Linked DNA regions of Homo sapiens: all the other regions are linked to region 1. The links are contacts of gene promoters, found by promoter capture Hi-C in human tissues and cell types (Jung and others, 2019). All regions are on one chromosome and are shown on one strand. The core of a region is centred on a gene start or on the middle of the fragment in contact, and the rest is flanking DNA. Distances in the headings are between cores, read along the strand shown. Region 1 holds the start of RNF213 (ring finger protein 213). Region 2 overlaps RPTOR (regulatory associated protein of MTOR complex 1). Region 3 overlaps RPTOR (regulatory associated protein of MTOR complex 1).

Region 1 (4,818 bases), core at 1,495-3,994:
ACCACGGCTTCAGTTTCATTTTCTGCGAAAGTGAAATCACAGCAGCCCAGCTGGTCCCCTGGTTAATGGAAACCCAACAGGAGCACAGCCCAAGCCCAGCCCCTCCCCGCTCTGTGCTGCCCCCTTGGCTCTCAAGCTTTTGCAGTCTCTGCCCTGGTCCCTCATTCAGCCAGCCTAGAACCATCCCTGCTGCTGAGAACATGGGTTGGGCTGGGTGGGGATAGGGGATGCTCCAGGCAGGCGTGGGGCAGCCACGTGCTGTTCGGCAGGGTCCCACGGCCTGCCCTGAGCAAGGCGCTCAGCCTGCTGATGCCTCACCCTCCTCATCCTCTTAAGGGGACTAAAGCACCTGCCCCACAGGTGATGGGGCCTGAGCAGGCAGCCCAGGGCTACTGGGCTGGCAGTCAGATTCCTAGTAATGGGGGGAGGCTGCCATCCACAAAGCGCGCCACTCTGCACTGACCACCTGCCCTCAGAACAGCCTCTGCGGTGGATGGCATCAAACCAGACCAAGGCCAGGACTCAGGCCTCCGGGGTCACTTCTTGCATCCAGGGTGAGAGTGGAGATGGCGTTTGGGCGCTTGGCCACCTAACAGTGGAGGACCTGACTCTCTCCCTCCCCAGTAAGAAGCCTCAGGGCACACTGGCCCACCCACCACCTTCTTCTGCTGGCTTGGAACCAAAGAACTCCACTGGGGCAGTGGCTGGAGCGGCAGCTGACTGGTGCCTTCAGCAGCCAGGAGGACACTCAGGCCCCCTCCCTGCCCTGGCCCTGCCCTCTCCTCCCACTGGGGTGGGCTCACTCAGGCTGGGCCTGAACGAGGGACGGAGGCACTGGGTGGGGTTCCCTGGCTTGACCTGTGTGGGAGACTAATCTATGCCACCCCAAAACAGATTCTGTGGTCAATTTTGAGATGGCTATTCAGAGCAACCACATACTCAGGAGTTCTGGGAAGCTATCCTTTTGTAAAAGGCTATAAAGGAAATCCACACCATGAAACAGCAGAATGGAGCAGAAGCTCTCTCTGAGGCCCCATTATCTGCCTAGAGGGATCTAGGAACGGTCCCAGGGACACACAAGAGGAGTGCCTGCGGCCTCGCCAGTTCCTCTGAGAGCAGCTCTGAGATCACCTGAGTGATTATCTGCACAACAAGACAACCCTGCACACCTCCCCTCTCCAGCCCCAAGCCCCTGTCCCAATGCCATAAAAACATCAATCATCTGTCTTCTGCAGTCTTCTCTTTGATGAGGTTCCCAATAGGTGTATGGGACAATTTGCATCCCTTTTCTCCAGGTCTGCTGCCCTTTTATTCCAGAGACTAAAATTATCTCTCCTTCAGAGTAGAAGGAGAGTTTAAAACTCCCCTACCCCTGCCACAGCCAAGCCCTGGCTCCCACCGTACCTCCTCCCCTCCACACTCTACCTGAAACAACCACCAGTGGACACTCCCTCCCTCAAACACCTTCAATGACTCCCCACCGCCCAGGCCTCTTTCTTTCCACCCGAAGTGTTTCCTTCTCCAATGCTACACTGGGGAACCACAGACCAGAAAACTCGAAAAATCCTCCAAAAAGCATTTTTTGTTTGTTTGACAGTTTCACCCAGGCTGGAGTACAGTGGGCAATCTCAGCTCACTGCAACCTCCGCCTCCCGGGCTCTAGCGATTCTCCCGCCTCAGTCTCCCAAGTAGGTGGAGTTACAGGCATGCGCCACCACACCCGGCTAATTTTTTGTGTTTTTAGTAGAAACGGGGTTTCATGTTGGCCAGGCTGGTCTCGAACTCCCGACCTCAGGTGACCCACCCGCCTTGGCCTCCCAAAGTTTTGGGATTACAGGCATTAGCCACTGCGCCCGGCCCCCTAAAGCATCTTATTGTTCCATCTGCTCTAGGGGCCGGAAGACACAAGAGAGAGCCCCAGGCACCCAACACTGTTGCATTCAATCCGCTTCCTGTCTTTTCTCTGACATTTTTTCCCAAGCACAGACACTGCCACCCAAATCAAAGCCCATCCCCCAACCACAACCAAAGTCAACAAGGTGGGGGCAGGGAAGGGCCACCACCATGTTTGCACAGCTCCTTCCCCTCCCGCCCTGGACTCCCCCAGGGCCCGGCCCGCCGGCTTGCAGGCAGCCATCCGGGAGGGGTGCCCACCCTGGCCTTGAGCCCCGCGCTCGGGCGACTTCGCCAAGTCGGAAGGACGCTGCGCGGTGCGGTTCAGACGGGGCGATGCCTCCCTCGTAAAAGTTAGGAGTCTGTTTTTGCAACTTCACTTTTCCGTTGTTGCCATTCGTACAGGCGCAGGATTCCCGGGCGGACCTGCAGGCCCGGGTCCGGCTGTCCCCTTCCACTACACCCCCCGTGCCCCGGCCACTTCCCGGGGGCAGCACTGCCGGGGCGCAAAGCCTCCTCCGCGCTCTGCGCTCCGGGGATGTCGCCGGGGTCCCAGGCGTGCCCGCTGCCCCCACCCCGACCCCTCCCGCAGCCGGGGAACAGGGTCAGTGGGCGCCGCGGGCGGGGCTGGACCGGGCACCCCGGCGGCGAAACCGAAACTTGGAGCCGGCAGGAAGAGGCGGCCGGGAGGGGCATCCGGACGCAGGCGCCGCTCCCCGGGACCCGGCCCGCCGGCCCGCGGGGCCCACTGTATCCTAGCCCGCTCCCCGCCCCGGGAGACTCTCCAGGCCCGCTCGCACCTGCGGCCCCCGAGCTCGCCGCCTGCCGCGCGCTGTCGCCCCTCGGGTCACGGGGCCCTGGGCCCCGCCCTGCCCGCCGCCGCCGCCGCCGGCCCCGCCCTGCCCGCCGCCGCCGCCGCCGGCCCCGCCCTGCCCGCCGCCGCCGCCGCCGGCCCCGCCCTGCCCGCCGCCGCCGCCGCCGGCCCCGCCCTGCCCGCCGCCGCCGCCGCCGGCCCCGCCCTGCCCGCCGCCGCCGCCGCCGGCCCCGCCCTGCCCGCCGCCGCCGCCGCCGGCCCCGCCCTGCCCGCCGCCGCCGCCGCCGGCCCCGCCCTGCCCGCCGCCGCCGCCGCCGGCCCCGCCCTGCCCGCCGCCGCCGCCGCCGGCCCCGCCCTGCCCGCCGCCGCCGCCGGCCCCGCGCAGGCGTGTGCGGAATTCCCCGCCGGTGGCGCCTCCCAGTGACTCCGGGCCCCCAGCCCCCGGGAGGCGCCTCGGGCCGCTGCGCGCCGGGTACAGACGCGGGAGGGGCCTCGGTTCCCGCCAGGCGTGGGGCGCATGCGGGTCTCCCGGAAGCCCAGACCCCGGGCAGGCCCGAGCAGCCGAGTGGGGCGGGACAGGCGCGCCCCCCGCCCCGGCGCCCAGCACCTCGGACAGTGTCTGCGGCCGCGCAGAGCCGGCGGCCAGCCTGGGAGCGGCCCAGAGGGCGCCCGGCGGGTGCAGTGGACGTCGTCAGCGCGCCGCGTGGGGGCCTTTGCAGATTAAGGGACCTCCGCGGCCCCGCGCGGAGCGCTCTGTCACTGATGATGGAGGGGCCACGGCGGTCCGCACCATCCCCCGTGCCTCAGTTTTCCCATCTGTGAGGCTCATGGTGTGACCAGGGACCTCCGTTTTAAAATCACCCACTTTCTTTTTCTTCCTTCTCCTCTCACCCCTTCATCCCGTCCCTCTCTGGACACTGCGCCCCTCTGCGCATTCCAGAGGGGACCCTCATCCTGAAACAATTCCCGGCGCGGAACCCCAGCTGAATGCTCCTGCTTGGGGCGGGGGGTCGCCAACAATTAGTCCAACATCCTCGACAGCCACCCCTCCTAACCGACAACTGCCCACGACAGCCATGGGAACAAGACACAGACCCTGCCCTTACCCCACTCCCCACGGTGCCCACGGCAAGTTTCCCTAGAAGAACTCGATGGCAGCCTGGGCAACATAGAGAGACCCCATCTCTACAAAAAAAATCATTTAAAAAAATTAGCTGGGCGTGGTGGTGCACCTGAAGAGGCTGAGGCAAGAGGATCGTTTGAGCCCAGGGAGCTCCAGGCTGCAGTGAGTCGTGATCATACCACTGCACTCCAGCCTGGATGACAAAGTGAGATCTTGCCTCAAAAACTAACAAACACACAAAACCTGAGGATAAATTTTTAATTTTAGGGTGGCACTTTATTTATTGTTTGTTTGTTTTTTGGAGACAGTCTCACTCTATACCCCAGGCTGGAGTGCAGTGGCGTGATCTTGGCTCACTGCAAACTCCACCTCCCAGTTCAAGTGATTCTCATGCCTCAGCCTCCCGAGTAGCTGGGATTACAAGCGCCCGCCACCAAGCCTGGCTAATTTTTGTATTTTTAGTAGAGACGGGGTTTCTCCATGTTGGCCAGGGTGGTCTCAAACTCCTGACCTCAGGTGATCCACCTGCCTTGGCCTCCCAAAGTGCTGGAATTACAGGCATGAGCCACTGCGCCCAGCCAAGGTGACACTTTAGAACGCTAGTTGGGCATCTTCTCGCTTTGCTGGGTCTCCAATTAAAACCTGCTTTTTCCTCCCACCAATCTTGACTGCACCACTGCACTCCAGCCCTGGCGACAGAGTGAGACTTTGTCTCTAAACAGTTAATTTCAACTGTTTCTTTTGACTTTTTCAGTATGACTAGTCGAAATGTTTAAATGACTTGCATGGCTCACGTTGGTGGCTTGCATGATTTTTCTGCGGGACAGTGCTGTCTCTGTGATCACAGTCTGCCCCTACCAGCTGCTGCAGCAGGTACACTAAGCCCTTGGAGCTTTGCCTCTTGCCCACGTAATAGTGCTGGGCCGGAGTGCTGCTCAGCACGGTGTTCTATCTTAACCTGAACATTTCCTTACTATTAATCCCAGGT
Region 2 (4,818 bases), core at 631-3,130, 650 kb before region 1:
GTGCATTTATGCTCACACGTTTTCTCATAAATTATAATATAAGCAGTGATCATGAGAACATGTGCCCTGACAGGTGACCACCTGTGGCTTGAAGGTTCTTTCTTGGCATTGTCCTAAAACCACTGAGGTGAGAACTGCTGGGGCCACAGGCAGGCTCCTGAGGGGCATCAGTCTCTTCTTTCTACTTCTACATAGTCTGAAATTTTCCTTAAAAAAACCTAAAAGCAGGCCAGGTGCAGTGGCTCATGCCTGTAATCCTGGCATTTTGGGAGGGAAATGTGGGTGAATCACTTGAGCCTAGGAGTTTGAGACCAGCCTGGGCAACATGGTGAAACCCCATCTCTACAAAAAATACGAAAATTAGCTAGGCATGGTGGTGCGCCCCTGTAGTCCCAGCTACTTGGGAGGCTGAGGTGGGAGGATCGCTTGAGCCCAGGAGGTCGAGGCTGCAGTGAGCCGTGACTGGATCACTGAACTCCAGCCTGGGTGATAGAGTGAGACCCTGTCTCAAAACAAAACAAACAAACAACACCCCCAAAACTAAACCAAGAGAAAAGGGAGCTAAAAGCAAAATGAAAACCCCAAGCCCATGGAATGGGAATCGAAATATATTATAAATACATGAAATCAGACCACAGCTCTGGAGCTGTGTGGGTTCTCTCATACAGAGCTGGTGGCAATTTCTGTATTTGAATATAGAATTCTACAGGGCATTCCATAGTAATAAGGCTGTTTTAGACTCTGATGAACAAAAATTTGGCTTCAGAGTTAAATATCTAAAATAGGCTCGTTTCTCTGTAAAATGAAATGTAATCCCTTCAGTTCCTAGAGCAGGAAAATAAGGCATTTCTTGAAATTAAAATGAAGACAAGAAAGATTTATGCTTCCAAATGCTTTAGTAGCAATGTTTACTCTTAAACCCACACACATATACACTCAGACACACACACACGCGTGCACACACACGCACACAGACACACACACACAAGCTCATGCTGCATTGTGCTATGCATAGCAAGGTCTCTAGCAGAGGCCTTCTCTTGACCTTCTCCACCCCTCTGGCTGTGGCATGTCTGCTGGAGTGATGGCCATGTGCCTTAAGGTCTCTGTGTCATTCTAGAACGGCAAAGCAGGCACAGAAGGCAAATGCCACTTTTATGGCGGTTTCTGGGTCTCAATCGGATAGCACGACAAAGCCGTGTGTTCGAGTTGCTATAACCTGCTAACATGAAAGGCAGACGCAGGTGCTTAACTGCCTTACCGTGGTGGGAGAGGGGGGCGGGCCGTCCAGCTACACTACATGTCACACACAATCCAAAAGGGCGCTGGGCTGTGGAGGCTGTGCTGGGACGTTTGCTGAAGAGCAGAGAGCAGTGGCTTCTGTGCTACACAGGCTCGAGAGCTTCCCAAGAGGAGCTATTTAACAACTGGAGGCCAGGTCCACAGGAACGCACTTAATAGTCCTTATATTTCAAGATTAGGCACTCGGATTACAGTTTAAAATAATTCAGGCTAATTTTTCAGTAAGGTTAAATACACAAAAGCCACTGAAAAATAAACTTAAATAGGCTGAATACTGATTTCATCATGATCAAAATACCCAAGAAGCTAAATTAATTGGGGGAAAACGATCAAACCTCCTAAATAGCGCTGGCCTCCAACTGTGCAGTCAGGACAGAGCAAGGGTGGTCCATGGCCACAGCCATCCTGTGCCTCCAAGAGAAAAGAAGAGGCCACCAGACACTCCTGTGTGTCAGAGAACTGCCAGCAGAGACGCGAACTGGCCATCAATTCTAAAAACTTAAACCATTTATTAATGTTCGTAAAAAGCTTTTACAACTATTTTAGTGAAAACGGCTATTTAAAACCCAACCTTGAAATCTTAAACTAAAAGTGGTAGAGGCTATTTAGAGTCTAAAAGGGCAGTGGTAAGTGGTAAGAACTGATTTTCCCTAATCCGTAGCAGGCAGATGTGACGGTTTCAGTCCCAATCCTCCAGAGCGTCAGCTCATCTGAGAGGCCTCGGGACCGGTTGCTCTGGTCTGGGGCCTCCGTGGGTGGTTTCCTCAGGGGTGTTTGTGCAGTCTTATGACTTTCTTTTCTTCCTTATTTCCTTCCTGTCTGCTTTACTGCCTCCCCTTCTTGGTCTCAGACCATAATGTGTAACAAACATATATTTTTAAACATTATTTTAAAAGACACGGTCTCACTCTGCCGCCCAGGATGAAGTGCAGTGGCACAATCATAGCTCACTGCAGCCTTGAGCTCCTGGGCTCAAGGGATCTTCCAGCCTCATCCTCCTGGGTAGCTGCGACCACAAGTGCTTGCCACCGTGCCCGGCTAACTTGCTACTATTTTGTAGAGACGGGGTTTCACTATGTTTCCCAGGCTGGTCTCAAAACACCTGGGCTCAAGTGATCGTCTCTCGCCTTGGCCTCCCAAAGTGCTGGGATTACAGGTGTGAGCCACCACACCCAGCCTGAGGTTTATTTTTGTATTTATCTTATTCCTAGTTTAAAAGCAAATAATTATATTATTTCTTAGTTTTCTTACCGCATAATGAAAACATTAACTTAATTGACTGGCTATTTTCAACAGGCCAGTAGCACATAAAAGAAACCTGAGGAGATGGCCTGCTGCCTGGGGATGAACGTCTCCAGGTGCCCGTGCAGCTGGCCACACCACACGGTGACGAAGGAGGTGGCAGAATCCGCTGCAGGGATGCGGTGACGAAGGAAGTGGCAGAGTCCGCTGCAGGAGGGGAGGCCGGTGCAGAATTAAACAATCTGGACCTTTCCAAGTTGGCCAATAGGCTACTTGTGACTATACCGGTGATACCATAAAGAACAGGCCAGGCGCAGTGGCTCACGCCTGTAATCCCAGCACTTTGGGAGGCCGAGGCAGGCGGATCACGAGGTCAAGAGACCGAGACCATCCTGGCCAACACGGTGAAACCCCTCGTCTCTCCTAAAAATACAAAAATTAGCCGGGTGTGGTGGCTCACGCCTGTAGTCCCAGCTACTTGGGAGGCTGAGGCAGCAGAACTGCTTGAACCTGGGAGGCGGAGGCTGCAGTGAGCTGAGATTGTGCCACTGCACTCCAGCCTGGCAACAGAGCAAGAGAAAAAAAAAAAAAAAGAACTGAAGAAGAACCAACTGCAGACGGTAAGGTGATTTCCATCTAAGATATAACTAGACCAACAGAAAATAACTTAGTTGAAGGAACCGAAAGCCACAGAAGTATAATATCAGCAAAAGGAGCTGAGGAGCTGCAGGAACCCTGGCTCGATGGCCGGCCAGGACCCAGAAGGCCACAGCAAATGAGAGGGGGAGACTCGATAGCTCATTTGGAAAAAGCGATGGACTAGGATGGGAAGCCGTGGCTCCTCGACCCTGCAGACCCTGGCACTGAGTGATACCCGAGGCAACGCCATAGCCGTGACGAGGTCAGATGAAGACGTAGAACACCACAGAGGCTGCAAGAGTGTGGCCTTTCCCTGCATTCTTCCTGCAACATTTCTGTAAGCTTTTGAAGTTTTATCAAAAAGTTACCAAAAAATTTTTAAGTGCTATAATGAGTGACTTCTAATTCCACATAAATCATCCAACTTCCATAAGCAACTAGAAAACCAGGACAAATACCGTAAACAATTGTTTTTGGACACTGGGTGCTGGGTGTCACGGGCTTGTGATCCCTGAGAGAACGGAAATAAACAGCTGCCCTGTGTCCGGCTTGCAGGTAGTTTCAGGCAGTCCCAGGCCACAGTGCAGAGACGGGGAGCCCAGCACTTTCAGGGAACAGGAGACAGAGACTGGGGCTCCAGGGAGGCTGAGGTGGTGACAATTTGCAGGACAGAGCACTGGAGAGGGGAAAGCTTCCAAGGTCTGCAGGAGAGGCCCCTGGGGTCTTTGACTAAGTATTCATCTGCTCAAGGGTAGAGTGACAACCCATGAGGCAGAGAAAAAACAGCGGGAAGGCGGTAGGCCAAATGCCCAGAGCTCACAAAAGGGACTGAGAAGAGTTTACAGTCCCCAAAGAGAAAGGACTAAAATCAATGACCTCTGCTTCTACCTTAAGAAACTAGGATGAGAAGAGCAAATTAAACTCAAAGTAAGCAGAAGAAAGCAAGCTTTATTGATGAAAGCTCAATCAATCAAATGGAAAATGGACAAACAACAGAGAAAAACCAATGAAACCAAAAACTGATTCTTTGAAAAGTTCCCTTGAGCTAGAATGGCCATGAATAAGAAACCATTAACTAGAAGGGTTTTGAATGAGTCAAAAATTACTGCTATCAGAAAGGGAAGAAAAGTCTGGGTGTGGTGGCTCATGCCTGTAATCCCAGCACTTCAGGAGGCCAAGGCAGGAGGATCACTTGAACTGAGGAGTTAGAGACCAGCTTGGGCGACACACTGAGACTCTGTCTCTACAAAAAATTTAAAAATTAGCCGGGTGTGGTGGTGTGCACCTGTAGTCCCAGCTACTTCCAAGGCTGAGGTGGGAGGATTGCTTGAGCCCAGGAGTTGGAGGCTACAGTGAGCCGTGATCAGGTCACTGCATTCTAGTCTGGACAGAGTGAGACTGTCTTACAAAAACAAAAAACAGGTGCAGTGGCTCACGCTTGTAATCCCAGCACTTTGGGAGGCTGAGGCAGGAGGATCCCTTGAGCCCAGGAGTTCAAGACCAGCCTGGGCAACACAGGGAGACCCCATCTCTTATAAATAATTAAGTAAAGAAAGAAAAAAAAAATGGAAGAAGGGCCAGCACTGTAGCTCACCCAGACACCAGAGGATCCTGAAAGATAATGTCAGTCCTCCC
Region 3 (4,818 bases), core at 1,019-3,518, 600 kb before region 1:
GAGCACGGGGACAGCCTTACGGGGGTCAGACACAGGCAGGGGGACTGAGTGCAGGGCACCAGGGGAAGGCCAGGGACAGGACGGTGTGGGGGGACTGAGCGCAGGGTACCAGGGGAAGGCCAGGGACAGGACAGGTAGGTGACAGCCCCCACGACCCAGAGGTGGCTGCCGAGGCGGGCGCGTCCCACTTTACCCCAGAAGAGAGGAAGGGAACGGCGGTGCCTGGAGAGGGAGCGAGGCTGGAGAAAGGGCAGGCTGGAAACGCAGGGCTCGGCATCCCCAGAAGGGCCGGCAGGTTCACATCACTCTGGGGAGGAGGGCGGGGATACTCACGCTGTCCACTGCGAGGATCTTGGCCCAGATGAAAACGAGAAGTGGCCGCAGCTCTCGGGCCGAGCTCTGGAGCAGCTTCAGCACGTAGGGGAAGATGCCGACAGACAAGGCCTGGGGGCGAGGGAGGGCGTCAGCGCACCTGTGCCGCAGCAAGGGAACGGGCAGCAGCAGGGGTGCCACGCGGGACCAGCTGCGGTGCTATCTTCAGCACATATGGGAAACGCAACAGGAATGAATGGGCCTCACTTAAAGTAAAGAGGGGCTTCCTCCAGATTTATTCATCTCTGATTTATTCCTAGAAGCTGCCACATACTGCCAGCCTTGACTGGTGTCAAGAGACTGGAATGAATCGGGTGGCAGCTTTTCCTTGTGGAGGCGCAGGCTGCTTGCGCCTGGGGCCCTTGCCTGCCCTCAGTGGCCTCGTCTGCTCTTGGCAGCAGAGCATCAGGCACCTTCACTGTGTTGCTCACGTACGAGCCACGGCCACCTGTGACGGCACGGCCACCTCTCCGTGACGGCATGGCCACCTCTCCGTGACACCACGGCCACCTCTCCGTGACGGCACGGCCAGCTTGCTCAACACTCATGTTTGCACTTCAGATACACCTTGGGAGAAAGATGCCTGCCCTGGGAAAGGCAGGGAGGAGCGGGGGTTGCCCAGGGGCTCACTGGCGCCCAGTTCTGGCCATGTCATTCTCAGGGGACTCTCTGCCCTCAGAGGCAGGGGAGGGAGGGCGTGGAGGGCACTGCAGTGTGGAGGATGCCTGGCAAAGTACTGCTGCACTCCACAGCCAGGGGTTTCTGCTGTGTCCTTATCTCAAAGCTGCTGGAATTTCAAAGATATCCTAAAGGTATCACCTTCCAATAAGTGAGGTCCCCTGTAACCAAGACAGGAGGTGGTGGTGGGACCTAGGCCTGGGTCCCTTCCCTGTGAAAGGCCACATTTAACAAGGTATGAGCAGTTTCTCTGGTTCGGGTGGCTGGGCCCTCACCTGAGAGGCAAAATCTGTACCTGTAAAAATACCTCGTTTATCCAGCCTCGATTCATGTATTAGGCAAATTTCCAATGAGCAGAAGCTTAATTCTTTAAAGGGAAGAAACTGGTTTTAAAAAATTAACCTTAAAAATGAAACTCTTTCTAAACTGTTATGAATACATGCTTCCTGTCTTCTTAGAGTGCACGCAATACCACGCAGGCCTTTCCAGGATGACTAAGCGACACCACCACGCACACACCAAGTGACCGAGTCACGCCAGCCTTCCTCCGATGACTCAGGCCCTGACTCTGTTACAAGCTATTTGTGGCCTCAGGCACCTGGAGTGAAAATGGCCCAGTGGTGAGTGCTGAATGATTCTTCCAAGTTTTGGATGTTTTCTCTCGTCCTTCAGTGCTGGACTATCAATTACCACTCTTTGTCAACATTATCTGATGAAAATACTTAAATACACCAAACCCAGGTACTCACCACCCAGCTAGTGACAGCGGTTCCGCACCCACCGCCCCACCGCACCGCTCCCAAGCACAGTAAATTAAGGCTCATATGTCATGTGATTTCATTGGTGAATATTCAGTGTCTATCTCTAAAAAATTAGGTCTCTTTTATAAAAACATGATCCAGTTACCACACCCAAGAAAAACGAACAATGATTCTTGAATAACATAAATCCAGCACCTGTAAAATTTCTAATTGTTTTATGAGTATTCATTTTTGGAACTTCAACAGAACCAAGTAAGGTTTACTGTACATGGCAGCTGGCCATAGGTCTCTCGAGTTTCCTTGACTCTGTGGTTCCCTCTCAGCCTCCTTTTACTTTCCCTGTGAGTTATTTGTTAAACGCACGTCGCTTCTTGATCCTGCCTCTGCCAGGGTGTTTTTAGTGGCCATTACTACTCTGCTATAGAATGAGGAACCAGAAGAGCGTTTCCGAATTGTGCCTGCCATGATGGTGAGCAGACAGTGCTGAGGATCCAGACTCCTCCTGGGGGAAGCAGCACCACGAGGTGGGTGCTGCGTCAGGCTCAGGGGCGCCCTGCTCCTCCGCAGCGCTGGGGGCGGCTCAGGAAAAGGTGACCGGCCGACAACACACTCACTCCTATGTCTAACATCAGACATAAAGAGGGGCGACAACCCCAGACCCCCAAACGCCAGGCAGCACTGCAGGCTGCACGGGTACAGAGTGGGCTCCTTGAGGGCCTCAGGAGTGACAGGACACCAACACGGTGGACACACTCGCCCTGGGTCTCACGGCTGGGGGTGGCTCTGGATCATGAAATACGTGCACAGACTGAAACACGGAGCCTAATCTCTGTCCCACCTCCCTCAGCCCCCAGGTTAATGCGGAAGGCACGCACCAGGCTCACTGCCCAGGGACCCAGGTCCAAAAATCTTCCAAGCAAGTCCAATGCTCTCAGCCGGTGCACTTGGCTTAACAGCACCTGGAAGAACAAGAAGAAAATGGTATCACTGCAAACCATACTGGTGTGCAACCCCGAAACGCTGCTGCATGAGCTGCCAGCTTTGGAGCGGTCTGACCACAGTTCAGATCTGTCTGCTGCTTCAGTTACCTAGAGCTGGTGCTCCTTTCCTTACAAGTTCATGCTTTTAGACAGGTGAAGAAAACACGCTTTATGCCTTTATTACACAGATAAAAGATGCTCAATGTAGAAAATACTAGAACAAACATGCTTTAATTGCATTTAAAAAGCTAACCCACTGGTGACATTTAGGTATATGAACTCAGACATTGTTCTTTATGTCCACACTTCTCTTACTGATCTTGAACTAGATAATATGTGATTCTATTTCTCAGCTCCTTTTTAAACTAAACAATGCACTGTGAACATTGTTCATATCAGTAGGTATGTACTGACCATATTATTCCCAAAGGCGGCACAGTACTTCCGTTATGCAAATGTACACAATTCTTTTAAACAACTTCCCCAGTGATAGATATTTAAATTATCATCAAAATGTTCCTACTTTTACCATTTTTATTTATTTATTTTTGAGATAGGGTCTTGCTCTGTTGCCCAAGCTAGAGTATAGATGCCAGATCATGGCTCACTGCAGCCTCAACCTCCTGGACTCAAGTGATCCTCCCACCTCAAACCCTGAGTAGCTAGGACCGCAGGTATGTACCACCATGCCTGGTTAATTTTTGTATTTTTTATAGAGATGGGGGTCTCACTACATTGCCCATGCAGGTCTTGAACTTCTGGCTCAAGCAACCCTCCCGCTTCAGCCTCCCGAAGTGTAGGGATTACAGGCGTGGGCCATCATGCCTGGCCAAAATGCTGCTCTGATAAAGAAGATTGTGATCAATATCCTAATGGGTACATCGGCACATGTACATGATTCTTTTCCACTAAGATAAATGTGAGTATTAAAAAGGTAAGGTCGGAGCATATATACTTAAGTTACCAAATGACCCTGAGGCTGAACCCACTCACACTCTCGACGGCACGCACGTGGGCACCAGCTTCCTGCTGCCTGAGCTGGTCACCCAGCAGCGCTCACTGCGGTGTGACTCTGGGCAAGTTAACGTCGCTGAGCCTTGATTTATTAATTCATAAAACACATATAACACAACACCTGCCCACAAGGGTTTCATTAAATTAAATAATAAATTTAAAGCTTGTGGGACAATACTAGCCCATATTACACTATTATTAGCCAAAAGGACAGGTGAAAATACATCCTTTTCATCTGGATTTCTTGGATTTCAAGGGGAGTACATTTTGCAGGTTGATGGGCCATTTCCCCAGTAAACTTGCCCTGCATGCGTTTAGTTTTCTACTTCAAAATGTGGCTTTTTCTTATTGACATGTCAGAGTTCTTTATAAGTTAGAGTGGGCTCTGCCAGAGGTTTTGCACATACTTTTTCTGTTATATTAAAGTTCTACACTTTTTTTTTTTTTTGAGACAGAGTCTCACTCGGTCGCCCAGGCTGGAGTGCAGTGGCGCAATCTCGGCTCACTGCAAGCTCCACCTCCCGGGTTCATGCCATTCTCCTGCCTCAGCCTCCTGAGTAGTTAAGACTACAAGCGCCTGCCACCATGACCGGCTAATTTATTTTTGTATTTTTAGTAGAGACGGGGTTTCACTGCATTAGGCAGGATGGTCTTGATCTCCTGACCTTGTGATCCACCCGCCTTGGCCTCCCAAAGTGCTGGGATTACAGGCGTGAGCCACCGTGCCCGGCCAAGCTTTACACTTTTAATGGCATTACTTCTTTTGATTTTTTCCTTAATGGTGGCTATGCTGGAAGGCATGTGCATCGACTCCCTCCAACCTACAGCATTTCTATCCACGATGCCCCAGTCATCCAAGGGGTGTTTATGGGGCAGGTGCTGCGCTGGGTGCTAGGAGAGTGACCACAGACAGTAGGGACCACCTCACCCATCCTTCATGTGGCCTGGGAGACAGACATTAAACAAATGACCGCCCCATCACCATGCCTAAACACACAGACCCTGGGAGCCCC

Evidence for each region. Contacts are between HindIII fragments. The study calls those that stand out against the background at their distance.
Region 2: a fragment that was not itself captured here is called in contact with the fragment with the promoter of RNF213 in region 1 in 1 of the 25 tissues and cell types used here (dorsolateral prefrontal cortex).
Region 3: a fragment that was not itself captured here is called in contact with the fragment with the promoter of RNF213 in region 1 in 2 of the 25 tissues and cell types used here (H1 embryonic stem cells and dorsolateral prefrontal cortex).

Annotation. Positions count from the first base shown.
Region 1 is chr17:80,258,778-80,263,595 of GRCh38, reverse strand. It overlaps RNF213 (ring finger protein 213), which reads right to left and starts at 2,744. Exons shown (of 68, transcript NM_001256071.3): 1 at 2,694-2,744; 2 at 1-22. RefSeq lists enhancers at 1-125, 1-153 and silencers at 75-292, 1,867-2,006, 2,387-2,736, 3,016-3,365. The HindIII fragment of the contact is 8,363 bases long and covers 1-4,818 here.
Region 2 is chr17:80,909,162-80,913,979 of GRCh38, reverse strand. All of the region lies in intron 21 of RPTOR (regulatory associated protein of MTOR complex 1), which reads right to left. Among named protein-coding and RNA genes, the nearest start is that of CHMP6, 80 kb to the left of the region's middle. RefSeq lists enhancers at 2,231-2,280, 3,049-3,238, 3,359-3,588. The HindIII fragment of the contact is 4,245 bases long and covers 1-4,002 here.
Region 3 is chr17:80,853,416-80,858,233 of GRCh38, reverse strand. It overlaps RPTOR (regulatory associated protein of MTOR complex 1), which reads right to left. Exons shown (of 34, transcript NM_020761.3): 12 at 2,687-2,770; 13 at 334-444. Among named protein-coding and RNA genes, the nearest start is that of CHMP6, 140 kb to the left of the region's middle. RefSeq lists enhancers at 1,405-1,554, 698-1,628, 1,565-1,714, 1,451-1,745, 1,065-2,264 and 3 more. The HindIII fragment of the contact is 6,292 bases long and covers 1-4,818 here.